6 separate regions of the Homo sapiens genome follow, and regions 2, 3, 4, 5 and 6 are each linked to region 1. Evidence: promoter capture Hi-C in human tissues and cell types (Jung and others, 2019). All regions are on one chromosome and are shown on one strand. The core of a region is centred on a gene start or on the middle of the fragment in contact, and the rest is flanking DNA. Distances in the headings are between cores, read along the strand shown. Region 1 holds the start of SP140L (SP140 nuclear body protein like). Region 2 overlaps CAB39 (calcium binding protein 39). Region 3 has its middle 35 kb from the start of LINC01907. Region 4 has its middle 80 kb from the start of LINC01907. Region 5 overlaps SLC16A14 (solute carrier family 16 member 14). Region 6 has its middle 98 kb from the start of LINC01907.

Region 1 (4,332 bases), core at 830-3,329:
TCATACTACTTCTTAATTTGGTCCTGTCCCTTTCCCAACCCAGGTGTGTCTGATGTATTCCAGATCAAAGAAACTTTGCTTTTCCCACAGAAGCCTAGAGATTCTCCATTAACTGGCATTGCTTTTGCAGAGTGTGGTGTGTGCTCAGCTTTTTCCAACCCTGTCTGACAAGAACATCTCCTTCCCTGCTGTCAGGAGCTGCCCTAGCAAGGGCATGTCCACCTGTAAAGGTCAACACTTGCAGATTTCCAGCCAGCTCATTGGTCTGGAATTCCAGCCCCTAAGCACACCCAGAGAAAAGCTGGTACATATGTCAGTGCCACTCAGTGGCCTGGGCCTGCTTGCTGCCCAAGAGCAGTGAGAGGGGTGAGTGCAGACGCCAGAGCCGACTGGTGTGGTCCGCGCCAGGCCTTGTCAGTGCTGCTGTGCTCCATGGAGACTGGGATCAGAGGACAACTGTGCCCAACAGATGCTCAGCTTACCAGCCACTGTGCCTCCATAAAACTGGGGAGTCATGGGGGAGCGAGCAAGAGAAAGAGAGAGAGAGACCTACAGGTGTGCAGTACCTGATAGAAACAGTGACCTCGCCCACTGGAAAAGCTGTCCTCACCAGTGTCTTGGCACCTGCTTATTAACTCATTTTGGGGAAAGCAGGGCACCAGTAGAATCAGGGTAGAAACCCCCCACCCTCGTATTTTCAAATGTACCTGAACAAGCATTCACAGCTTCCAACTATTGTGCAATAAACAGCAAAAAAAAAAAAAGTCCTTGAACCAAAATTGTCCTTAGCTGCTCTGCCCTCTAAGATGGGGCATAGTTTACATGGGAGTTGGGGGAGGACTCCATGTTTGCCCCTTCCCCTTGCTGAGATGGCTGGGGGTGGGGGCTGGAAAAAGTTGGATTCAGCAGAATGTAATTTGGAAAACATGGCTCTGGAGCACCATCCCCTCTGGCCCCTGAATCCTCACCAGCTTCCACCCTCTGCTCACCTTGGGCCCTGGATTCCAGCGCCCCCAGGCTCCCAGCTGCCTCCCTGTCTCTGCCCCATGGTCCAGCCTGGAGTTCTGGTCCCTGGTTGTGTCCTGTGGCCCCATTCTCATGCGCCCTTTGCTTCTATTTCTTTACCTATGACTTTATACTGATGTAAAGCGAGTCTTCTCGGTCGCTTCTTGTTCTCTGAGGAATGTTGAATCAGAATCTAAATGGAAAATCTGGGAAGAGATAGAACCTCCCGCGGGAGCCACCCTGCCCTTCCATGTCTAGATCATCTGGGTTCCAACCTCCATCCTCCTCCAATGAGAAGCTTTTGTTCTCTCAAGATTCCAGTGACTTCTCCGAAGCTCTCTTCATCCCTGGCTGTTCCAAGGTGGCCCCATAGTCAAGATTCCTTAAACCCTTGCCCCTTAAAATGTTTGCCTTTCTTACCATGCTGGCTCCAGCCTCTGGTCCCAGGGGTGTGGAGAGTTCTCTCTTACTTCTGGCTGATTTCCAGGAAGGCTAAGAACACTCTCCCCAGGTTATAATGCTGAGCATTTTGGTTCTCTCCAGCCCTGGGTCCCCATGTCAGGACCTACCTTAGTCCAGTCCATGCTCTCCCATGGGCCTGAGAGAAGATTTGAAGTTTCTGGCTTTCCCTCCAACCCTCCAACTCTCACCCCCAGCCATTTCAGCAAGGGGAAGGGGCAAACATGGAGTTTTCCCCCCAACTCCCATGTAAACTATGCCCCCTCTTAAGAGGGCAGAGCAGCTAAGGACTATTTTGGTTCAAGGACATTTTTTTTTTTTTTGCTGTCCATTGCACAAGCAAGTGGACTCCCGGAAGCCAGCCCTGCTCGTCCTCTGGGCCCTCCTTTCCCTGGTCCTGCAGGTCTTGCTGCTTGTCAGGCCTCTCCTCCAACCGTCTGCCACATTTCAGAAAAGCTGAGAACCCCTTGGAGTGAAAAAGGAGGAGAAACACGGTGTCTGTATCCCAGCAGGAAGTTAAATAAATACTTTCACTTTTCTTTTCCCCATTTGGGCAGAAATCTGTGAGGGTGAGTCAGTCTGTCGGCCGACTTCCTGCTCCGGGTCAGGGCAGCCACACTGCACGCAGGCTGGGCCGACTGGGGAGCTCATAGGCCAGGCTCTGACACCCAGGCAGGGCCTAGGGTGGGACGATGGCAGGTGGGGGCAGCGACCTGAGCACCAGGTGAGTCTTTATCTCTCTTCCTTTCACCTTTATCTCTGGCAGTATTGGAGCTTTCATGCCTGTAGTTCAGTTTCTGTCTAAAGCTTCAGTTTAGTCCTGCTTTGCAAGAACATAGGTAGGTAGTGTAATATAATGGAATAAAAGAGAATGTAATAAGGAAATCAGATTTTTACAACTGCAGCAGGACAGCTGTTTGTGTGAGTCCAGCTTGCCATAACACAGATGACTTTTCTTGTTTTGAAACTACTGCTCAGCTGGCGGGGACACTCTGAACAGTCGTTTCAGTCATTTGTGACTGAGAGTTATTATTTCCTCATGAGAATGAGGAACACAAATTATATGTTTGTGTTTCAACAAACATTTCCTCATGATCTCCCAACCCTTTCACATCCCTCTGCCCTCTCTACCTTCACATATGTCATGTCAAAGAAGGTAGTTTGGAAATAGACACTCCAGGGTAAACAGCTGGCTTACTTTTAAACATTGGAAACTGTGGTTTCACCTGTCTTGGCAAGGGGCCTCAGTCAGCTTTGGGGCTATTTCCTTGACTGACTCAGGGTGTGAGTTCTGATACAATTGACCTTGATCCAAAGAAGGAAAAAGAAGAAAAAGGCCCAGGATGGCAGAAAGCTAAATATTTTTATTTTTACTTCAATTTCCTGTCCCAAGATGGGGGATGCCTCTGACCAGAAAAGAGATGGAAATCCTATCTTTTCTCTAGTAACGAGTTTATAAATAACATTACGTAATCTTTTTATTTTATTTCATTTTTTTGAGACAGGGTCTCACTCTGTCAACCAGGCTGGAGTGCAGTGGCACAATCCCGGCTCACTGCAACCTCTGTCTCCTGGGTTCAAGCGATTTTAATCTTTTAAATTTTTTAATACAAAAGAAATACATTACATTCTTACTCATAAAATTTCAAACAGTGGAGAAGTGTATAAACGAAAAAGTCTTCTTCACCACTCACTTCGCCTTGTAGCTTCCTTTCACAGTCTTGTGAAGAGTCTTCGGCATAACTTTTCTCATATTTTTCGATGCATTTACGTGTATGAAGTATGTTTTTGTAAACATATAATTTGTGTTCTCGTTTTGTAATAAATGGAATTACATTGTGCGTGCTATTCTGCATTTTGCATTTCTACTCATTTTAATGGTGGAAATCTTAGAGATCTTTTCACCTTAATGCATATAGATCTACCTCACTCTTTTTACATATACTATTCCATAGAATTTACATAGCATAATTTTTTAACCATTCTCCAATTGAAGGACATTTAGATTGTTTTAAATTGTTCACGTTTATCAATAAGCTATAATAATGATTATATATTTCTCTTTTTTTTGCACATATGCAAGTATTTCTCTTGTGCCTAAACCTTAAAAAGTGGAATTGTTGAAGCAAAGGGTGCTGTTATTTACTTGTTTATAGATCCTGCCAAATTGTCTTTTTAGGGGGCTGAACGGAGGTGTTTCACAAGTAGCAAATGAGATGAACCATCTTCCTGCACACAGCCAAAGTCTGCAAAGGTGATGAAGAATTACAATTTGTTTTAATTTGTATTTTCCTGATAATGTGGAAAGCTGAACAGCTTTTCATGTTTCTTGGCCACTGAAATTTCCTCTTCCATAATTTTTTTGTTTATTTTTTGCCAATGTGATTCAGTTGAGGTGTTTGTCTTTTTTTCATGATATGGGAGAGTTCACTAAATATTCTGCAAAGTATAAATATACTTTTCTTGTCCCTTACATTTGTATATGGTGACTTTTATCTTATTAACAGCTTAAAATTTCATGTATAAACATCTTACGACATAGATTTTATAAGACAGATGCACCCTCATTATAAATAGTGATGCAGAGAGTTGCTGAGGCACTCTGTGAGCACGGCCAGTTTTTAAAGTCGTTCTTCTGTTAAGGTGGCAGATTTGATTCTGCCTTTGTTCCAGGAAAAGTTCCTTCTCTAAAATCTCTGACATTTTCTTTTTCAATTTTTAGGCAAAATTATTCTTACATTGGAGCAACTTCAGCCTTCACAGCTTTTATCTTCCCCGTGGTCCTTTCATCTTTTCAGTTTTTTACTTTGAGTTCACAATAGTTGTCTCAAACTTTTCCTCCATGACAATTATCTAGTGATATGGTTT
Region 2 (4,332 bases), core at 957-3,456, 450 kb after region 1:
TGCCTTTGTTGTTGTCTACTGTCTTTACTTGCATCATTATCTCTTGCAAGAGATCCCCAGTTTGATTGAATCCACAGACATTTTAGTGCCTCTCTGTGTGGGCAGATAGGCATAGGAGTCAAACCTTGTCCCCGTTCTTAAAAAAGTATATAATCCAGTAGAGGAGATACACATGTAAATAATATAATATAGAGGGACTTGGGGGCGCAGATAAAATTCTGTGGGAACCAAGAGGATAAAGCAGTTCCTACGTCTGTCAGAGACAGATACAGAGATGACAGGTTTGAAGTGACGTTTAAGCTGATTTTTAAGGTTTTTGGCAGGCAAAGTGTGAAAGGGAACAGAATTTGAAACAACCTATGGCATGTTCAGAAAACAGTGACAAGTTCAGTGTGACTTTAAGAGGTGGAGATAAAGAGGAATGGTAGGAAGTAAGACTAGAGAAACAAGCTTTGGTAGAATGAAAAGGGCCTTATAGACAACCTAAGGGTATACTGAGGGGGAGTGCAAGAGGTCTTACGCTATAGAAGTCTTATGTTGCCTTACTTTGTTTTGTTTATTTTGAAATTAATTAATTCACAGGAAGTTGCTGAAATGAGTACAGGAGAACCCATGTACCTTTCACCCATATCCCCAGTGGTAACCTCTCACATAACTATATACAATATCAAAACCAGAGCATTGACATTGGTATAATCCACAGGGCTTGTTCAGATTTCACCAGTTTTACAGTTTGTGTGGATATGCATATAGCTCTATGCAATTGCATCACACTTATCTGTTCTCCAAGTCTATACATTTTATTACTTCAAGAATGTTAAATAAATAGAATCATATAGTGTGTAAACTTTTGAGATGGGCTTTCTTCCACTCAGCATCATTCCCATGAGATCCACACAAGTGGTTGTGAGTGTCACTAGTTCATTGCTCTGGAGAAACAAGTAGGTCATGGTTCCAGGTGCTCTGTCTCACTTCATCCACTTTTTTTCTTCCCCCCCCGAGATGGAGTCTCGCTCTGTCACCCAGGCTGGCATGCGGTGGCACGATCTCGGCTCACTGCAAGCTCCACCTCCTGGGTTCATGCCATTCTACTGCCTCAGCCTCCCCAGTAGCTGGGACTACAGGCGCCTGCCACGCCCGGCTAATTTTTTGTATTTTTAGTTGAGACGGGGTTTCACCGTATTAGCCAGGATGGTCTCGATCTCCTGACCTCATGATCCGCCCGCCTCAGCCTCTTAAAGTGCTGAGATTACAGGCTTGAGCCACCGCACCTGGCCTTTCATCCACTTTTTTAGTTTTACTTTATTCTAACTAGTATATTGGAATTCTACATTGTGTAGTAGGGAAGTGTGTATGAGTGTGTGCGAGAAAGATCTTTGTTTCCTTCATAGATTCTAATTTATTTCTGTATCTATACAAAGTCATGTTCTAATGATGTATATGATGTATGTTCATTCCCCCAAAAAGCAGAAAATACAAGACTATAAAGAAAAAAATTAAGTTTATCCTTAATTCAGTACCACGTGAAATGACTACTGTTAACTTGGTGGGGATTCTCATTCATATTCTAGCTTGTTTTCTCCCTCTCTCTGGGGCAGATAAGTAAATGAGTATGGGGTCATGCTGCTCTGTAACCTGTTGGTGTTTTTTTTGTTTTTTTTTTTTTAATTTTAAATTTTAACATCTTTTCATGTGCATATAGATCTCAATTTTGTTTTTTTTTTTTTAAATATGGAGTCTTGCTCTGTCACCCAGGCTGGAGTGCAGTGGCATAATCTCAGCTCACTGCAACTTCTGCCTCCCAGGTTCAAGCAATTCTTGTGCCTCAGCCTCCCAAGTAGCTGGGATTACAGGTACCTGGCTGATTTTCATATTTTTAATAGAGATGGGGTTTCACCATGTTGGCCAGGCTGGTCTTGAACTCCTGACCTCAAGTGATCGCCACCTTGACCACCTCCCAAAGTGCTGGGATTACAGGTGTGAGCCACCACCCCTGGCCCTCAATTATTTTTAAAGCCTGCCGTGGTTCTTCCATTTTATGGGTACGTAATGATTAAACTAGTTCAGTGGGATAACTTTTACTTCTAATTCTTTGCTGTTGTAAGTAACACTGCATGTACTTACCTTTGTGTACTTGTCTGTTTCCATAGGGTAAATTCCTGAAAGTATAATTCACAGGAAGTTGCAGAAATGAGTCAGAGGCCTTGCACCTTTTAAAACTCTTCAATAACATTTTGCCAAATTGCCCTCCAGTAAAGTTGTACCAATTTATTTTCCTACCAGTGGCGTATCTAAAAGCCTTTGCCTCTGATAAGAAGGAAGAATATTTTATCCTTTTAAGATTGTTACTATTACTATGAAATAGAATCTTTTGTAAGGTTTTTAATGTCTGACTTAGCCATTTGTATACTTCAGCATGTTACTATGTTTGTCTTTAAGTGTGCTTTCTATATTGAGGTTAGAATTGCTACTAACTACTAAAAATTGGGGACAGTGAAGAGGGCAGCCCAGTCTTGTATCTCACCAAGTAAAGTCCTGTCCCTTCATGTGGAAGTAGCCTTCTTGTCACCTTGTTTCCTAACGTAAGGCCGGTTTGGATCTACTGAGTGCTTGAGTCCAGAGGAGGAGTGTTGGTAAGGGCTGTGAGTACTTCAAGGACATTGCATAGAAGCACTAATGGGTATGTGAGCTGTCTTCTCGAGTCTTCTGAAATTGTACTTTTGTATCACTACTTTTTATCAGCAATTGCCTCTAGTGACAGTAAAATAGTGCACTGATAGGTACCGTGGGAATATTGGATTTAAGTCAAGAGAGTTAATACGAAACCTCCTGAGGTTTTGGTGATCTCTGAAAAGGCCATTTGTACTAATGTTTAGCTTACTAATTGCTTATTTTCCCACCCTGTTTTATTTTTTAATGGGAAAGCAGGCAGTGAAAAATCTCATAGCCTTAGTGCTACTTGAAGAGGTTATTATGGACTCTATCCTTAAAAATTTGAAGTCCTGTTACACGTTACTTAACAACAGGGATACATTCCAAAAAATGCATCATTAGGCGATTTCTTCCAGCCTGTTGCTCCTAGGCTACAAATCTGTGTAGCTTGTTACTATAGCGAATACTGTAGGCAGTTGGAACACAATGGCAAGTATTTGTTTATCTAAACATAGAAAAGGTACAGCAAAAATATGGTATTGTATCTGTGGGACCACAGTTGTCTCTGTGGTCTGCTGTTGACCAAGACGTTATGTGGTGCGTGACTATAGTTACCTATGTCCTCACCCTGGGAGGGAAAGTTTAGTTTCTGATACTGTTATTAGTGAGGTGAGCATTAGGTGTGAACTTTGGGATACTGGTTACTACTTAAGTTGATCCTAACACTTAAATATTTTAACTTTAAAAAATTATTAAATGTAATTAAAGATGAAGTTGTTATCATTTGATCATATGTGGAAGTCAGGCTCCATAGTTTAGAATTAATATGCCTGGCCCCATGGGACATAGGGACTTCACCTCTCAACTCAGAGCCTTGATCTGAGAAGCTTTGCCAAGCCCCAGACCCTTTCCTCTGTGCTGTGCTCTTTTGGAGCCTCCACACTCCCACCACATACGGCTGCTCTGTACAGCCACACAGGATGAAGCACTTCTCAGAAGCCATAAGGAAACAGCTAAGAACTGAAACAAAACTCTGTACCTCCCTCCCAGACGAGTCAGCAGTAAGGGATGATCCGCATCTCTTTCTAGGCAAGTGAGTGGGCTTGTTATAAAGGGGGGCTGTTCTCTTATGCCTTTCTTCTTGACCATGATCTATAAAACAGTTGGCTACTTTTAATAAAGCAGTCTGCCCATGAAAAGTAATATGAGGCTAACTGGTACATAGAAATGTAGCATCTGTGTCTTGGAACACCATGTTCAACTGAGGAAACTTCCCAGACAATTCAGTCAGTTAACAAAATCATCAGGTCATTCCATGTGTAAATTGCCATCATAAGCGCTTTCCAAAGCCCTTGAATGTGTTAGGGAGATGAGAGGTATGTGTGAAAGGTTATAGCACTTACAAGGTCAGCAACTGAAATAAGGTCACAGCTGCTGTAGGCATCAGAGGAGGAGAGAGTCATGGGAGGGAGGAGAGTCTTCCTGGATGCAGGAGCTCTTAAGAGTGGAAAGAAGGAGTGTGAGCATTCAGGCTTTTATGTTAGCTTGAGTAGAGACAGAGATGTCCAGGGTGAGAGAAGGAATGTAGATGACAGGGCAAAAGAGAATTGAAGACCTTTATTTGGAGTTTGAGATCTTAAAGAAATGGAATGGGTCTTAGGGGTCATCTGGTCCAGTTCC
Region 3 (4,332 bases), core at 685-3,184, 340 kb after region 1:
GCCGGGCAAGTTACTCAACCTCTCTGAGCCTGTGCCCCACACACTGTACTCCTGCGGGCCATCACCTCTGTGCAGTGGGGTCAGGGTAGAGGCATGGCCCAAGGTCAGCCACCCATGGGCTGGGCTGCCCTAGGCTAGCTGGGGTGGGTGCTGGGCTTTCAGAAGTAGCTACCAGATTTTGCATGAGATGACCTGGGTATCAATTAGGACTGTGTTCACCTGCATGTAACTAAAAACTAGAGTAACAGGGATTTTTTTTTTTTTTTTTTTTTTTTTTTTTTTTTTTTGTCTCATACAAAAAAGGAAGTTTAGAGTTGGCAGTCAAGGGCTGGTACCATCGCTTAGGGGTCAGCCAACATCAGGACTCCTCCTGTTCTCCTCCACCACACTTAGCATCTGGCTTTTCCCCTCATGGTTGAATATGGCTGCTGCACCTCCAGGCGTCCAAACTGTCTTCCAAAAAGTTAGAAGGAGAAAACGATGAAGTCAAAGATCAAAGAGAAAGGGCTAAAGAGCATGCCAGTTGAATCTGTTTCTTTTTAAATATCCACCCACCAGTCAGGCATGGTGGCTCATGCCTATAATCCCAGGACTTTGGGAGACCGAGGTGGGTGGATCATCTGATGTCAGGAGTTTGAGACCAACCTGACCAACGTGGTAAAACCCCATCTCTACTAAAAAGAGAAAAAATTAGCTGGGTGTGGTGGCGGGGGCCTGTAATCCCAGCTACTCGGGAGGCTGAGGCAGGAGAATCACTTGAATCCACGAGGCAGAGATTGCAGTAAGCTGAGATCGCGCCATTGCACTCCAGCCTGGGCAACAAGAGTGAAACTCCAGCTCAAAAAATAAAACAAAAAAAAAAGTAAATTTCCACCCACTGACTCCTGCTCTTATTCCACTGGGCAGAACTAGGTCAACATGACCACCACTACATACAAAGGATCCAAGGAAGTAGTTGAGCTGGACACCTTGCCACCCCCCAAAGGCAGGATGCTGTTAGTAAGGAAGAAGGGGAAACTAGATACTGGGTAGGTGCCCAGCATATGCTCTCAGCTGAGCTCAAGTGCAGTGAGGGTGGGCGGTGCATCACAGCCCTGGCCCAGGGCCACCCCCAGGACTGGGAGGAGAGCCCAGAGCTGAGAGGGGCAGAGCCTGGGCTGCAGGTCTCTGAGTCTGCATGGTATGGGCAGTCTAGTGGTGGGAAGATTTTCTCCCTCCCCCTCCCCACTCACTTATGTGCACCGGCATCCACGCAGCCTCCACTTTCACAGGCTGAGGTGCTGTCTCATTTCTCTCACCCTCTGCCACACCACCCCTTGGGTCTCCCTGACATTGCGCTGCTTTCTCAGGCCTTGGCTGGAGCACAGTGCAGAGGGGGTGGGGATGGGGGAGCACTCCTCATCGCTGCTTTTCAGAGGATCCCCCTCCACTCTTCAAAAGAAAGGATGGGAAGTGGGGTGTGGGGCTGTGTGCTAAGGAAGGCTCTCCTTCCAGCTTCTACTGCCTGCCCCCCACCTCAGGATCAGAAGTGGGGGGCTCCAAGGGCCCCTCATTCCAGAGCCCATGGGCTAAAGCAAGTAAAGATGAGTGAGGATTAAAGCAAAAGGCAAACATGAGGACACAGAGCCTGCCCTCCCTGTCGCAGCAACCTGGTGAGGATGAACTCAGAGGCTGGCCCTAGTGGTGGAAAGTTAAGGAAAGACTGCCAGAAGATGAATGCCAAAAACCTAGGGCTCCCCTTCTTCCTCCCCATATCCAAGCCCTCATCCTCCTTAGACATACATCCAGAGTCTGACTGCTCCTCCCGCCTCCACAGCCACCACCCTGGTCCATCCTTTGTCCCGACTCACGTAGATCATGACATCTCTCTCCTTCCTGCACGTCCAGCCGCCCCAACCACCCTCATCACACAGCCAGACCAGCCCTCTCGTGTTTCCCAAATCTCCATGATGGCTCACAGGTTCCCATGGATTCCTGTGGACTCCCAGGATCACTTCAGCCACAGGGAAGTGTGCTCCTGACTCAGGGCCTTTTCATTTCTGGTACCTTCTGCCTCGGAGGCCCTTCCCCCTGGAGCCCTGGGCTGACTCCCTTACCCTTCAGACTTTCACTAGCATCTACCAGAGCCTTCCTCTGACCTCCCTGTGTTAATGACAACAGCTCTCCACCCTGCTGCATACCCTAACATGCTGAGCAGCTTTCTTTTCTCCACACCACGTGTTGCCACCAGACAAAAGTGCTACAAGCTCCTGGAGGGAGGGACCAGGTCTATAGTTCACTGCCATATCCACAGTCCCTCATGTACTCCCTCAGTGCTTGCTGAGTGAGTGAGTGAATGAATGAATGAGCGAACCACAAGAATATTATTTGACCTCAAGAACACCGCAGGAACTGGCAGGGGGACCATGATCTTCCTGAACGCTCTGCATGAGATGACTTGGCAGATCCCACGGACTTGCCTTCTTAAAACCACCCTGGAGGCCGGGCACGGTGGCTCATGCCTGTAATCCTAGCACTTTGGGAGGCCGAGGTGGGCTGATCACGTGAAGTCAGGAGTTCAAAACCAGCCTGGCCAACATGGTGAAACCCCATCTCTACTAAAAATACAAAAAAAAATTTGCCTGCATGGTAGCGGGTGCCTGTAATCCCAGCTACTTGGGAGGCTGAGGAAGGAGAATTGCTTGAACCCTGGAGGCAGAGGTTGCAGTGAGCCAAGATTGCACCACTGCACTCCAGCCTGGGTGACAGAATGAGACTCCATCTCAAAAAAAAAAAAAAAAAAAAAAACCCACCCTGGAAACAGGGAGAGAATCAGAGCGAAAGCTTCCAGTTCAAACGCAGGTTGAGAATGAGGTTTGCAGAGCCAGCGGGCAGTGAGTGCTGACCGAGAAGACCCATGGCGGCCCACTGCAGTGGGGGCGGCGGCAGTGTGACCTTGTTGAAACTAGCCGCTCCAGTGACCCAAGGCTGGGGGAGATTTGGCTCTGCTACTTTCCAGCACTGTGAGCTTGGGAGCCTTACCTGCTCCGAGCTTCAGTTTCCTTACTTGTATAATGGGGATTAAATAACACACTTTTTTTTTTTTTGAGATGGAGTCTCACTCTGTTGCCCAGGCTGGAGTGCAGTGGCACTATCTTGGCACTATCTGCAACCTCCGACTCCCGGGTTCAAGCAATTCCCCCGCCTCAGCCTGCCCAGTAGCTAAGATTACAGACACACGCCACTACGCCCAGCTAATTTTTGCATTTTGGGTAGAGACGGGGTTTCACCATGTTGGCCAGGCTGGTCTCGAACTCCTGACCTCAAGTGATCCACCCACCTCGGCCTCCCAAAGTGCTGGAATTACAGGTGTGAGCAACCACGCCCAGCCCTAACACACTTTCTTTATTGCCCTTGAATCAACCGCATTCCAAGGCCAACGTCATTTGGAAAGGTTGACCTAGATTTCCTTTTCCATCTCCACTGGGACCTCCCCTTTCACCCACCGGAACCCAGGAGGCTCTGATGCCTTGAACACACAGAAGGGCTCCTAATCTTTTGTACATCAAAGTCGCCCCAGCTTCTTTGCTGCCCAAGCTCACTGGTGTGGTTTCCTAATGTCCCCGACAGTTTGGGAGATCTCTGCCAAGGCTGGCCACCTGGTACCAGCCCAGGTGCCCCACCTGTCTCCCACCCCCAGGTCTCTGGTCACCTCCTGGATACTGTGAGTACTGGAGAACTTGCTGCTTGGGGACACCAGCACTCTCTCCCCTGAGGGCTGGGGCATATGCTCTCCAGACCCACCTTTCTCCTTCCCTCTCAGGACCCCTGGAGTGATCTCATCAACATCTGGCTTAACTCATCAGGGGATTTTCTGCAAGTGAGAAGGCTAATGCCTCTGGGGCCAGGCAGGCCTGGTGAATGTATGACAAAACTGCAGGGCATGGTAGGAGCGTGTACTGGTTTTCTAGGGCGCCGTAATGAAGTACACACAAACTGGGTGGCTTAGAACAATGGAACTGTGTCGACTCACAGGTCTGGAAGCCAGAAGCCTGAAATCGAGGTGTTAGCAGCACCATGCTCCCTCCAAAAGCACTGGGAAGGATCCATTCCAGGCCTCTCCCTGAGTTTCTGGGGGTTGCTGGCCGTTTTTGGCATTCCTTGGCTTGGAGACACGTCACCCAGTCTCTGCCTTCAGCATGTGGTATCTTCCCTGTGTGTGTCTGTGTTCCCATTTCCCCTTTTTCGAGGACAGAAGTCAGATCAGGGGCCCACCCTACTCCAGTATGACCTCATCTTAACTCATTACATCTGCAATGACCCTCTTTCCAAATAAGGTCACATTCTGAGATA
Region 4 (4,332 bases), core at 1,071-3,570, 290 kb after region 1:
CCAGGCTGGAGTGCGTGATCTCAGCTCACCGCAACCTCCGCCTCCCGGGTTCAAGCAATCCTCCCACCTCAGCGTCCCAAGTAGCTGGAGCTACAGGTGCCTGCCACCATGCCCAGCTAATTTTTGTATTTTTAGTAGAGACAAGGTTTCACCATGTTGGCCAGGATGGTCTTGAACTCCTGGCCTCAAGTGATCTGCCCACTTCAGCTTCCCAAAGTGCTGGGATTACAGACATGAGCCACTGCGCCTGGACTTGTTGTCTTAAACTCTTAAGTTAGAGAACTTTCCAGGTCATGGCTAAGACAGACATATTGACCAGAGACACCATCAAAACACTTGCAGCCCAAACTGTGAAGTCATTTCAATATGACACCCAGTGACTCCTTTTGCAATTGTCATTCTCAACCCATTTACACTCTTTCTTCTTATAAGAAGAGATTTTTTGGCTGGCTGCAGTGGCTCACACCTGTAATCCCAGCACTTTAGGAGGCCGAGGCAGGCAGATTTCTTGAGTCCAGGAGCTCAACACCATCCTGGACAACATGGCAAAACCCTGTCTCTACAAAAAATACAAAAATTAGCTTGGCATGGCAGTTCACAACTGTGGCCCAGCTACTCAGGAGGCTGAGGTGGGAGGATTGCTTGAGGCTGGGAGGCAGGTTTCAGTGAGCTGTGATCATGCCACTGCACTCCAGTCTGGTCAAAAGAGTGAAGCCCAGAAGAAAGAGAAAGAGAAGAAAAGAGAAGGAAGAGAAGGGAAGGGAAAGGAAAGGAAAGGAGAAGGAAGAGAGAGAGAGAGAAAGGAAAGAAAGAGAGAGAAAGAGAAGGGAGGGAGGGAGGGAAGGAAGGAGGGACGGAGGGAGGTAAGGAAGGAAGGAAGGAAATGAAGGGGAAACAAAGGAAGAAAGAAAGGGAAAGGAAAGGAAGAGAGAGAAAGAAAAAAAGAGAAAGGAAAGGGAGGGGAGGGGAGGGGAGAGGAGAGGAGGGGAGAGGACGGGAGGGGAGGGGAGGGGAGAAGAGAAGAGAAGAGAAGAGAAGAGAAGAGAAGAGAAGAGAAGAGAAGAGAAGAGAAGAGAAGAGAAGAGAAGGTCACTTCCAAGATGGCCAAATAGCAACAGCTCCAGTCTGCAGCCCCTAGCGAGATCAATGCAGAAGACGGTTGATGTCTGCATTTCCAACTGAGGTACCTGGTTCATCTCACTGGGACTGGTTGGACAGTGGATACAGCCCATGGAGGGTGAGCTGATGCAGGGCAGGGTGTCGCCTCACCTGGGAAGTGCAAGGGGTTGGGGGATTTCTCCTTCCTAGCCAAGGGAAGCCATATGACAGACTGTACCTGGAGAAATGGTATACTTCTGACCAAATACTGCACTATGCCCACAGTCCTAGCAACTGGCAAACCAGCAGATACCCTCCCATGCCTGGCTCAGCGGGTCCCATGCCAACAGAGCCTTGCTCACTGCTAGCACAACAGTGTGAGATCAACCTGCGATGCTGTAGCTGGACGAGCGGAGGGGAGTCCGTCATTGCTGAGGCTTGACTAGCTCACAGTATAAACAAAGAGGCCTGGAAACATGAACCGGGCGGAGCCCACCTCAGCTCAGCAAGGCCTACTGCCTCTATAGATTCCACCTCCGGGGGCATGGCATAATAGAACAAAAGGCAGCAGACAGCTTCTGCAGGCTTAAATGTCCCTGTGTGACAGCTCTGAAGAAAGCAGTGGTTCTCACAGCATGGCATTTGAACACCAAGAACAGACAGACTACCTCCTCAGTTAGGTCCCTGACCCCCATGTAGCCTGACTGGGGAACACCTCCCAGTAGGGGCCAACAGACACCTCAAACAGGCGGGTGCCCCTCTGGGACAAAGCTTCCAGAGGAAGGATCAGGCAGCAATATTTGCTGTTCTGCAGCCTCTGCTGGTGATACCCAGGCAAACAGGGCCTGGAGTGGACCTCCAGCAAACTCCAACACACCTGCAGCTGAGGGGTCTGATTGTTAGAAGGAAAACTAACAAATGAAAAAAATAGCATCAACATCAACACAAAGGACATGCACACCAAAACCCCATCTGTAGGTCACCAACATCAAAGACCAAAGGTAGATAAAACCACAAAGATGGGGAGAAACCAGAGCAAAAAAGCTAAAAATTCCAAAAAACAGAGCGCCTCTTCTCCTCCAAAGGATCGCAGCTCCTCGCTAGCAAGGGAACAAAACTGGACAGGGAATGATTTTGAAGAGTTGACAGAAGTAGGCTTTAGAAGGTCAGTAATAACAAACTTCTCCAAGCTAAAGGAGCGTGTTCTAACCCATTGCAAGGAAGCTAAAAACCTTGAAAAAAGGTTAGATGAATGGCTAACTAGAATAAATACTAGAGAATACCTTAAATGACCTGATGGAGCTGAAAACCATGGCACGAGAACTTCGTGATGCATGCACAAGCTTCAATAGCTGATTCGATCAAATGGAAGAAAGGATATCAGTGATTGAAGATCAAATTAATGAAATAAAGCAAGAAGACAAGATTAGAGAAAAATGAGTGAAGACAAACGAATAAAGCCTCCAAGAAATATGAGACTATGTGAAAAGACCAAATATACATTTGATTACTGTACTGGAAAGTGACAGGGAGAAGGGAACCAAGTTAAAAAACACTCTTCAGGATATTATCCAGGAGAACTTCCCTAACCTAGCAAGGCAGGCCAACATTCAAATTCAGGAAATACAGAGAACACCACAAAGATACTCCTCCAGAAGAGCAACCCCGAGACACATAATTGTCAGATTCACCAAGGTTGAAATGAAGGAAAAAAAGTTAAGGGCAGCCAGAGAGAAAGGCTGGGTTACCCACAAAGGGAAGCCCATCAGACTAAGAGTGGATCTCTCGGCTGAAACCCTACAAGCCAAAAGACAGTGGGGGCCAATATTCAACATTCTTAAAAAAAAAAAAAAACAATTTTCAAACCAGAATCTCATATCCAGCCAAACTAAGCTTCATAAGCAAAGGAGAAATAAAATCCTTTACAGACAAGCAAATGCTGAGAGATTTTGTCACCACCAGGCCTGCCTTACAAGAGCTTCTGAAGAAAGCACTAAACATGGAAGGCAACAACCAGTACCAGCCACTGCAAAAACATGACAAATGGTAAAGACTATCGACGCTATGAAGAAACTGCATCAATTAACGGGCAAAATAACCAGCTAACATCATAATGACAGGATCAAATTCAAACATAACAATATTAGCCTTAAATGTAAATTGGGCTAAATGTCCCAATTAAGAGACACAGACTGGCAAAGTGGATAAAGAGTCAAGACCCATCGGTGTGCTGTATTCAGGAGACCCATCTCACATGCAGAGACACACATAGGCTCTAATAAAGGGATGGTGGAAGATCTACCAAGCAAATGGAAAGCAAAAAGAAAAGCAGGGTTTGCAATCCTAGTCTCTGATAAAACAGACTTTAACCATAACCAAAACAAAGATCAAAAGAGACAAAGAAGGCCACTACATAATGGTAAAGGGATCAATTCAACAAGAAGAGCTAAGTATCCTAACTATATATGCACCCAATACAGGAGCACCCAGATTCATAAAGTAAGTCCGTAGAGACCTACAAAGAGACTTAGACTCCCACACAATAATAATGGGAGACTTTAACACCCCACTGTCTATATTAGACAGATCAATGAAACAGAAAGTTAACAAGGATATCCAGGACTTGAACTCAGCTCTGGACCAAGCAGACGTAATAGACATCTACAGAACTCTCCACCCCAAATCAACAGACTATAACTTCTTCCAAGCACCACATCACACTTATTCTAAAATTGACCACATAATTGGTAGTAAAATACTCCTCAGCAAATGTAAAAGAACAGAAATCACAACAAACTGTCCCTCAGACCACAGAGCAATCAAATTAGAACTCAGGATTAAGAAATTCAATCAATCGGCCGGGCGCGGTGGCTCACGCCTGTAGTCCCAGCACTTTGGGAGGCCGAGGCGGGTGGATCATGAGGTCAGGAGATCGAGACCATCCTGGCTAACAGGGTGAAACCCCGTCTCTACTAAAAATACAAAAAATTAGCCGGGCGCAGTGGCGGGCGCCTGTAGTCCCAGCTACTCGGGAGGCTGAGGCAGGAGAATGGCGTAAACCCGGGAGGCAGAGCTTGCAGTGAGCCGAGATTGCGCCACTGCAGTCCGCAGTCCGGCCTGGGCGACAGAGCGAGACTCCGTCTCAAAAAAAAAAAAAAAAAAAAAAAGAAATTCAATCAATCAAAACCACACAACTACATGAAAACTGAACAACCTGCTCCTGAATGACTACTG
Region 5 (4,332 bases), core at 1,138-3,637, 270 kb before region 1:
CCATTTTGCAGATAAGGAAACTGAGACCAAAAGGGAGTACAGGAAGGGAGTCTTCAGAACTCCTGGGCTTCAGGCAGAAAACTAATAGCCTGTTTTCATGAGGATACCCAGATTGAAACCAAGCTGAAAAGAGCTAGTTGTCATCACTTCATACAGACTCCCATCCCGGCTGGTGTGCACAGTCTCTGACCAGACCTATCAGGCTATGGAGATTCGGGAATCCATTTCCATTGTGTAAAATGTGACAACACTCACAGCAGCACAGTATTTTATGAGACGCATTCTGATTGTTTCCTTTACGCTGACTTTCTAGTTTTGTTTTGTTTTCTTGTTTTTGTTTTGATACAGGGTCTCACTGTGTCATCCAAGCTAGAGTTCAGTGGTGTGATCACGGCTCACTGCAGCCTTCACCTCCCTGGGATCAAGCGATCCTCCCATCTCAGCCTCCTAAGTAGCTGGGCCTAGAGGCTTGTGCTATCATGTCCTGCTAATTTTGTATTTTTTATAGAGATAGGGTTTCGCCGTGTTGTTCAGGCTGGTCTAGAATTTCTAGGCTCAAGGGATCTGTCTGCCTTGGCCTCCCAAAGTGCTGGGATGACAGGCTTGAGCCATGGCACCTGGCTGACTTTCTAGTTCTTAATTGTCAACCTTCTTTATTCTCCTCCTGATTTTGTAGTAATTTCTGATGTCACTGAAGCTGAAAGCTTATCTTGTGATCAATGATTCCTTGTTTAAATAGGAATCCAGATTTATATGAGCTAGTACTCAATATTCAGTAAGATGGCATATTTTAATTATCTTATTTTTGATCATTACAAAGTTATGAAACCTTATATGCAGATGAACTATATTAAAAACTTGTTTAAAGAGCTTCCCTTTTGGCTTAAACTGAAATAAAGTTTCCTTTAAAGTTCTAACTATATTCATGTGTATATCTGGGTACAGTCAGCTAATGAGTTTATTTTGTCTAGTGGTTTTGTGGGTGCCTAATCCTAAAAACTATGAAGGTGAAGACTTATTAATTTAATTAACTCTGTTGCATTACAGGAAATAATTCAGTAAATTAACTCCTTAGAATAGACTTAATATATTAAACATACTTTTTTTTTTTTTTTTTGAGACGGAGTTTAGCTCTGTTGCCCAGGCTGGAGTGCAGTGGCGCGATCTCGACTCACTGCAAGCTCCGCCTCCCGGGTTCGCGCCATTCTCCTGCCTCAGCCTCCCGTGTAGCTGGGACTACAGGCGCACGCCACCATGCCTGGCTAATTTTTGTATTTTTAGTAGAGACGGGGTTTCACCGTGTTAGCCAGGATGGTCTCGATCTCCTGACCTCGTGATCCGCCCGTCTCGGCCTCCCAAAGTGCTGGGATTACAGGCGTGAGCCACCGCGCCCGGCCTAAACATACTTTATATAAATGTTATTTGTTATTAAATATGCACATTATAGAAATAATATATAAAATAAATGCACTGATAAAAAATCTGATGGAATTACTGGGGTTAACTGAAATTCACATACCGTAAGTTAGAGATACTTGTCTGATTTCTTTACACATTTTTATTTTTGTTTTTCTAAACCCATGGTTACTTGACTATGCCTAGCTTGGATGAGTGGGTAAAAAAAAGAAAAATGCATGACTTGTCAGTTTGCTGTTTGTAGCCTTTTCAAAGGTCAACAGATCACAGTTCAGTAGCACAATCATATTTTCCACTTCACAGAAAGGGCCCAGAAGCAAATTTTTCTGAGGTGCTTTATGAAACATTACATTAAAAAGGCGTTTGAGAAAAAAAAAAGGGAGAAAATTCCAAACTCAGTGCAAATATTCATGTCTGGAGGAATTTTATAAATTTAAAAAAGTATAACTATTTAACTGCTAAAAACATTAACTAAACAGCCAGGCACTGTTACAACTTAATCAACTCTCGCATGCTGGGGCTTCAGTCATTTATGATTTGCAGATGAGCCAAGCGAGACCCAGAAATGCTGTGACTTCTCCATGGTTATAAAATATATGTACATTGAAAAAAAAATAAAAACCCAAGCTTTTTGACTCTCAGTTTCCTCCCTCCTCCCCCCCTTCCTTCCCTTTCTTTCTCTCTCTCTTTCTTTCTTTCTTTTTTGAGACAGAGTTTCACGCTTGTTGCCCAGGCTGGAGTGCAGTGGTGCCATCTCGGCTCACTGCAACCTCTGCCTCCTGGATTCCAGCGATTCTCCTGCCTCAGCCTCCTGAGTAGCTGGGATTACAGGTGCTTGTCACCATGCCCAGCTAATTTTTTGTATTTTTAGTAGAGACAGGGTTTCACCATGTTGGCTAGGCTGGTCTCAAACTGCTGACCTCAGGTGATCCACCCGCCTCAGTCTCCAAAAGTGCTGGGATTATGTGAGCCACTGTGCCAGCTGAGTTTCATTTTCTACCCACTGTTTACTGATGGTCCACTAGCATTGCCAAAATCAAACCACCATTTCCAGAAAATAAAAGAAGTCCCCTCACAATCTAAGGAGAAGGGGGAATCATACAATTGAGATACAATCCTTTGACCATGACTCACACTTTTATAGAGTAATTCAGTGTTTTAGGATGAGATTATTCACATTATCTGACTTTTTCATTTTCAGAAGAAATCTGAATCTTGGACCATTTCCCACTGTAATAAAGTGTCCTGGCCAGGTGTGGTGGTTCACACCTGTAATCTCAGCACTTTGGGAGGCCGAGGTGGGTGGATCACGAGGTCAGGAGTTCAAGACAAGCCTGGACAAGACGGTGAAACCCCGTTTCTACTACAGCTACAAAAATTAGCCAGGTGTGGTGGCAGATGCCTGTAATGCCAGCTACTTGGGAGGCTGAGGCAGGAGAATCGCTTGAACCTGGGCAGCAGAGGTTGCAGTGAGCTGAGATCGCACCACCGCACTCCAGCCTGGGTGACAGAGTGCGACTTCATCTAAAAAAAAAAGTGTCCCACTGCTGTGGGGAACACCCTCAGGAAGTTATATTTTATTGACCCATCCTGGCAGCTGACAGGTTGGAAAAAAGCGCTGGTAGAGGAGCAATCACAGGTGAGCCTTGGCAGTTCTCAGGGATGGTTACAGATGCTTTGAACTCCAGGTCTCTTAGGGTAACCCCTCACCATAGTAAAGAGTTAGGAGCCTCTAAATCAATGAACTGTTTGCCTTAGCTGAACAGTGGTGTTGCTTAGGAGCTTAAAAAAAAATCCTGATACTTGGAGCCCATCCCAGGTGCAGCCTGAGGTGGGGGGGGAAGTTAAAGCTCCCCAGGTGGATCTGATGTGCAATCAAGATTGACAATCACTGCTATAAAGTGATTTAGCAAGTCATTTATCTTGTGTAGCCTGTGGATTCCCCCAACAATAGGGCATCCCCCAAGAATGATTCAGAGCTAGCCTCACAAAGGCTGCTGTAGATACTGTGAAAAGAAAATACAGACTTGGCACCCCAATTCACTCTGCCAAAAGAAAAAAATTAAGCTGAAAGCTGAGTCATGCAAGCAACTGCCTTTCCTTTTATTCCTAAGCAGTTAGTCACAGAGAAAGGGTTATATAGCTCCACAGGTAGCTACTCTATGTTCACCTTATTTTATGTAAAAGTGCTGATTTACTGAGTGTGAGATGAATACAAAATTGATGATTCCCCTATCTGCACCTTTTCTCTTGCAACACGTGGATGACTGTACCCTCCCTTTCTCCTCCAGCCCCCTTTTCCCCTTTAAATGTTGAAGTCCTCAAAATCATCTTTGGAGAAAGGCACAGGTAACAGACTGTTTCTGTGATTCTGTGTTTATTTCTTCTGGGCACCTCCCTACCCTTGGCTAAATTAACTTCCGGATTGATTGAGACCAGTCTCAGATATTTTGTGGTTTACAATACAAATGAGGTGATTACGTTTTATTAAAAGTTGGGACCTTCTGCAGGATGGTGATGAATTCATGCTACTCATGGGGCTGAGGCAGGAGAATCGCTGGAACCCAGGAGGCAGAGGTTGCAGTGAGCCGAGATCGTGCCACTGCACTCCAGCCTGGGCGACAGAGCGAGACTCCATCTCAGAAAAAAAAAAAAAAGAAGAAGAAAAAAAGAAAAAACCACGGACCTTTCTAAATTTAACAGGTAGCCCAAATGTGCTTACAATGATTAGAACGTAAAAACCATTTGTATTATTCATTTCAAGTATGTTTTCAGTTCTCATTTGATGTAATGGCAGGCAGTGTCATAGTAGACACAATTTTGGAGTCCCATGGACCAGGTTTAAAGCCAGTTCTACACTTACTGGCTGTTCAACCTTCAGTAAGTTACTTAATGTCTCTGAGTGTTGCATATTCT
Region 6 (4,332 bases), core at 1,038-3,537, 280 kb after region 1:
TAGCAAAAAAAAAAAAAAAACACATAACCCAATTGAAAAATGGGCAAAGGACCTGAATAGACATTTTTCCAAAAAAGATATACAAATGGTTAAGGGGTTTATGAAAAGGTGCTCAACATTACTAAACATCGGGGAAATGCTAGTCAAAACCACAATGAGATATCATCTCACACCTGTTAGATGGCTATCACCAAAAGGTCAAAAGATAACAAGTGTTGGCAAGGATGTAAAGAAAAGAAAACACTTAAATGTTGTTGGTGGGAATGTAAATTCCTGCAGCCATTCTGAAAAACAGCGTGAAGGTTCTTCAAAAAATAAAAAATACGGGCGGGGCACGGTGGCTCAGGTCTGTAATCTCAGCACTTTGGGAGGCCAAGGCAGGAGTTTCAGACCAGCCTGACCAACACGGTGAAATGCCCATCTGTACTGAAAATATAAAAATTAGCCAGGCGTGGTGGCATGCACCTGTAGTCCCACCTACTCGGGAGGCTGAGGTAGGAGAACCATTTGAACTCGGAAGGCAGAGGTTGCAGAGAGCCGAGATCGCACCACTGCACTCCAGCCTGGGTGACAGAGCAAGACTCAGTCTCAAAAAAAAAAAAAAAAAAAAAAACTACCATAGGATCCATCAATTCCCACTACCGGGTATATATCCAAAGTAAATTAAGGACAGGCACAGTGGCTTAACCCTATAAATCCCAACACTTCTAGTTATACGGTATAGCCGTAAAAAGTGAAAGCATTACCTTGGATATTTGCATACCCATGTTTACAAGAGCATTCAGTGGCCATGCACAATGGCATGGTATTCAGCCATGAAAAGGGAATAAAATATTGATATGTGCTGCAGTGTAGATGGACCTTGAAAACACTGGGCTAAGTGAAAGTAGCCAGACATGGAAGGACAAATGTGTGATTCCACTGATCTGAGGTACCTAGAATAAGCAAATTCATAGAAACAGAGAATAGAATCGAGGTCACCAGGGGATGGGAGGAGGGGGAAGGAATGTGGTGTTATTTGTATAACGGGTAGAGAGTTTACATTGGGAATGACAAAAAAGTTTTGGAAATAGTGGTGACGTTTACACGAATGTATTGTGAATGTATTTAATACCACTGAATTGCACACTTACAAATGACTAAATGAGAAATTGATAATGCTAAATAGTCATATATATTAACAATGAAATGATAACTATTATGTATACTTTGCTACAATAAATAATAATAATAATGATAATGGGAGAGGACTCATGTTATTTGAATGTGGAGCTTCGTGTTAATTAGTCCAACTAAGCTATCACATGCTGCTCTCTGGAGCGTGGGGACAGACAATAGCGCTGAGCATAACTGGGGACAGAAAAATAAATTGGCGGGGGCAGGGAGGCTCAGCTTAGTTGAGAGTGGGATTTTGTAGAGAATGAATGTCATGACCAATATCAGAAGTTTCTCAGAGCCACAGTTGAGCTGCTTTTTCTGCTGGTTTCAGGTGACGGCAAAACAGTGGCACAGGTGTGGGCCTGAAGCCCGCATAATGGAGCTTTCCCCTCCTCCCTGGATTCAGCCACACCCAGGACGAATGAGGTTTGGCTGCAAAACTTAATAGTTTGGGGGGTTTGGGGGTTTTTGTTTTTTGTTTTTTGAGACCGAGTCTCACTCTGTGTCCCAGGCTGGAGTGCAGTGACATGATCTTGGCTCACTGCAACCTCCACCTCCCGGGTTCAAGCGATTCTCCTGCCTCCGCCTTCCCAGTAGCTGGGATTACAGGCCCCGCCACCATGTCCGGCTAATTTTTGTATTTTAGGAGAGATGGAGGTTTCACCATGTTGGCCAGGCTGGTCTCAAACTCCTGACCTCAAGTGATCCACCTGACTCGGCCTCCCAAAGTGCTGGGATTACAGGCGTGAGCCACCGCACCCGTCCAATTTAATGGTTTAAGAGAATATGAGGCCAGGCACAGTGGCTCACACCTGTAACCCCAGCACTTTGGGAGGCCAAGGCTAGTGGATCACTTGAGGTCAGGAGTTCAAGACCAGCCTGACCAACATGGTGAAACCCCATCTCTACTAAAAATACAAAAACTAGCCAGGCGTGGTGGTGCACACCTGTTATCCCAGCTACTTGGGCAACTGAAGCAGGAAAATCACTTGAACCCGGGAGGCGGAGGTTGCAGTGAGCCAAGATCATGCCACTGCACTCCAGCCTGGGTGACAAGAGCAAAACTCCGTCTCAAAAAAAAAAGAGAAAACAAAACAAAAGTGAGGAAATCAAGGGGAGGGAAATCACTGCCCCAGCTCAGGGTTCTTGCCCCGAGGAAGGAGCTGCACTGCCAGAGTCCCTTTCAGGCACCCTCCAGGAGGCCACCAACCCCCAGCTGCAGTGCCTGCATGACAAAAGTTCAAGTTCAAGGGCCTGGCTTCCCCTCTGTTCCCCGCCCCCACACCCCCACCCACCCCCAGCAACACAGACAGGAAGCAGGGCTCACTTCCTGCACCAGTGCACTTACAGGAAGTCAGCTGCTATCACAAGTGCAGCCACCTGAGAGCCCAGGCCCTTTCCCAGAACCCCACCCATACCTGGTGGGGCTGATGTCCAGCTAGGGTGCTACACTAAAGCCCTACACAGTACTGAAGCATTAACACGCTTTTAACCCAGTTAGGGAAAAGCCACTGCCCTGAGCCCGTTGAAAGAGCTCAGGAAATGCCACCCCAAAATATGCTGCTTTGGTGTGCCGATCACTTTGAGCTGAAGACACTTGAGAAAGACCAAAGGCAGAGAGACGTTTTCCCTGAACTCCCCCTGTCTGCCTAAAGACAGATCCCCAATCCCCTCCCAGGGAGTTTCGGGGAAATGAAAATCAAAACCACAGTGAGATACCATCTCACACCTGTTAGATGGCTAGCATCAAAAGGTGAAAAGGTAACAGGTCTTGGCAAGGATGTAGAGAAAACACATATATGTTGTTGGTAGGAATGTAAATTGGTGCTGCCATTCCGTAAAACAGTGTGAAGTTTCCTCAAAAAATTAAAAATAGGGATTAGGTGGGGGTGGCTGGCAAAATGGCCAAATAGGAACAGTTCCAGTCTGCAGCTCCCAGCAAGATCAACATGGAAGGCAGGTAATTTCTGCATTTCCAACTGAGGTACCTGGCTCATCTCATTGGGACTGGTTAGACAGTGGGTGCAGCCCACAGAGGGTGAGCCAAAGCAGGGTGGGGTGTCACTTCAACACCCAAGAGGTCAGGAAACTCCCTCCCCTAGCCAAGGGAAGACATGAGGGACTGTGCCATGAGAAACAGTGCACTCCAGCCCAGATACTACACTTTTCCCATGGTCTTTGCAACCTGCAGACCAGGAGATTCCCTCAGGTGCCTACACCACAAGGGCCCTGGGTTTCAAGCACAAAACTGAGCAGCCATTTGGGCAGACACCGAGCTAGCTGCAGGAGTTTGTCTTTCCATAACCCAGTGGCGCCTGGAATGCCAGTGAGACAGAACCATTCACTCCTCTGGAAAGGGGGCTGAAGCCAGGGAGCCAAGTGGTCTAGCTCAGCAGATCCCACCCCCATGGAGGCCAGCAAGCTAAGATTGACTGGCTTGAAATTCTTGCTGGCAGCACAGCCATCTGAAGTTGACCTGGGACACTTGAGCTTGGTGGGAGGAGGGGCGTCCACCATTACTAAGGCTTGAGTAGGTGGGTTTTCCCTCACAGTGTAAACAAAGCCACTGGGAAGTTCGGAATAGGTGGAGCCCACCACAGCTCAGCAAAGCTGTTGTAGCCAGACTGCCTCTCTAGATTGCTCCTCTCTGGGCAGGGCATCTCTGAAAGAAAGGCAGCAGCCCCAGTCAGAGGCTTATAGATAAAACTCTGACCTCCCTGGGATAGAGCACCTGGGGGAAGGGACGGCTGTGGGCGCAGCTTCAGCAGACTTAAACATTCCTGCCTACTGGCTCTGAAGAGACCAGCAGATCTCCCAGAACAGCACTCAAGCTCTGCTAAGGGACAGACAGCCTCCTCAAGTGAGTCCCTGACCCCTGTGCCTCCTGACTGGGAGATACCCCCCAGCAGGGGTCGACAGACACTTCATACAGGAGAGCTCTGGCTGGCATCTGGCAGGTGCCTCTCTGGGATGAAGCTTCCAGAGGAAGGAACAGGAAGCAATCTTTGCTGTTCTGCAGCCTCTGCTGGTGATACCCAGACAATCAGGGTCTGGAGTGGACCTCCAGCAAACTCCAGCAGACCTGCAGAAGAGGGACCTGACTGTTAGAAGGAAAACTAACAAACAGAATGCAATAGCATCAACATCAACACAAAGGACAACCACACAGAAACC

Evidence for each region. Contacts are between HindIII fragments. The study calls those that stand out against the background at their distance.
Region 2: a contact is called between a fragment that was not itself captured here and the fragment with the promoter of SP140L in region 1, in 2 of the 25 tissues and cell types used here (mesenchymal stem cells and spleen).
Region 3: a contact is called between a fragment that was not itself captured here and the fragment with the promoter of SP140L in region 1, in 1 of the 25 tissues and cell types used here (pancreas).
Region 4: a contact is called between a fragment that was not itself captured here and the fragment with the promoter of SP140L in region 1, in 1 of the 25 tissues and cell types used here (lymphoblastoid cells).
Region 5: a contact is called between a fragment that was not itself captured here and the fragment with the promoter of SP140L in region 1, in 1 of the 25 tissues and cell types used here (mesenchymal stem cells).
Region 6: a fragment that was not itself captured here is called in contact with the fragment with the promoter of SP140L in region 1 in 1 of the 25 tissues and cell types used here (spleen).

What each region holds. Positions count from the first base shown.
Region 1 is chr2:230,325,114-230,329,445 of GRCh38, forward strand. It overlaps SP140L (SP140 nuclear body protein like), which reads left to right and starts at 2,080. Exons shown (of 19, transcript NM_138402.6): 1 at 2,080-2,188; 2 at 3,644-3,718. The coding sequence starts at 2,157. RefSeq lists an enhancer at 1,754-2,223. The HindIII fragment of the contact is 8,396 bases long and covers 1-4,332 here.
Region 2 is chr2:230,775,710-230,780,041 of GRCh38, forward strand. All of the region lies in intron 2 of CAB39 (calcium binding protein 39), which reads left to right. Among named protein-coding and RNA genes, the nearest start is that of CAB39, 65 kb to the left of the region's middle. The HindIII fragment of the contact is 5,711 bases long and covers 1-4,332 here.
Region 3 is chr2:230,663,157-230,667,488 of GRCh38, forward strand. No RefSeq gene overlaps it. Among named protein-coding and RNA genes, the nearest start is that of LINC01907, 35 kb to the right of the region's middle. RefSeq lists enhancers at 385-574, 3,262-4,127, 4,078-4,332. The HindIII fragment of the contact is 5,990 bases long and covers 1-4,332 here.
Region 4 is chr2:230,618,170-230,622,501 of GRCh38, forward strand. No RefSeq gene overlaps it. Among named protein-coding and RNA genes, the nearest start is that of LINC01907, 80 kb to the right of the region's middle. The HindIII fragment of the contact is 3,569 bases long and covers 537-4,105 here.
Region 5 is chr2:230,050,838-230,055,169 of GRCh38, forward strand. All of the region lies in intron 2 of SLC16A14 (solute carrier family 16 member 14), which reads right to left. It overlaps LOC107985996 (a long non-coding RNA gene), which reads left to right. Exons shown (of 2, transcript XR_001739919.3): 2 at 12-917. Among named protein-coding and RNA genes, the nearest start is that of SLC16A14, 16 kb to the right of the region's middle. The HindIII fragment of the contact is 4,211 bases long and covers 283-4,332 here.
Region 6 is chr2:230,600,298-230,604,629 of GRCh38, forward strand. No RefSeq gene overlaps it. Among named protein-coding and RNA genes, the nearest start is that of LINC01907, 98 kb to the right of the region's middle. RefSeq lists an enhancer at 2,143-2,272 and a silencer at 2,413-2,492. The HindIII fragment of the contact is 4,784 bases long and covers 1-4,332 here.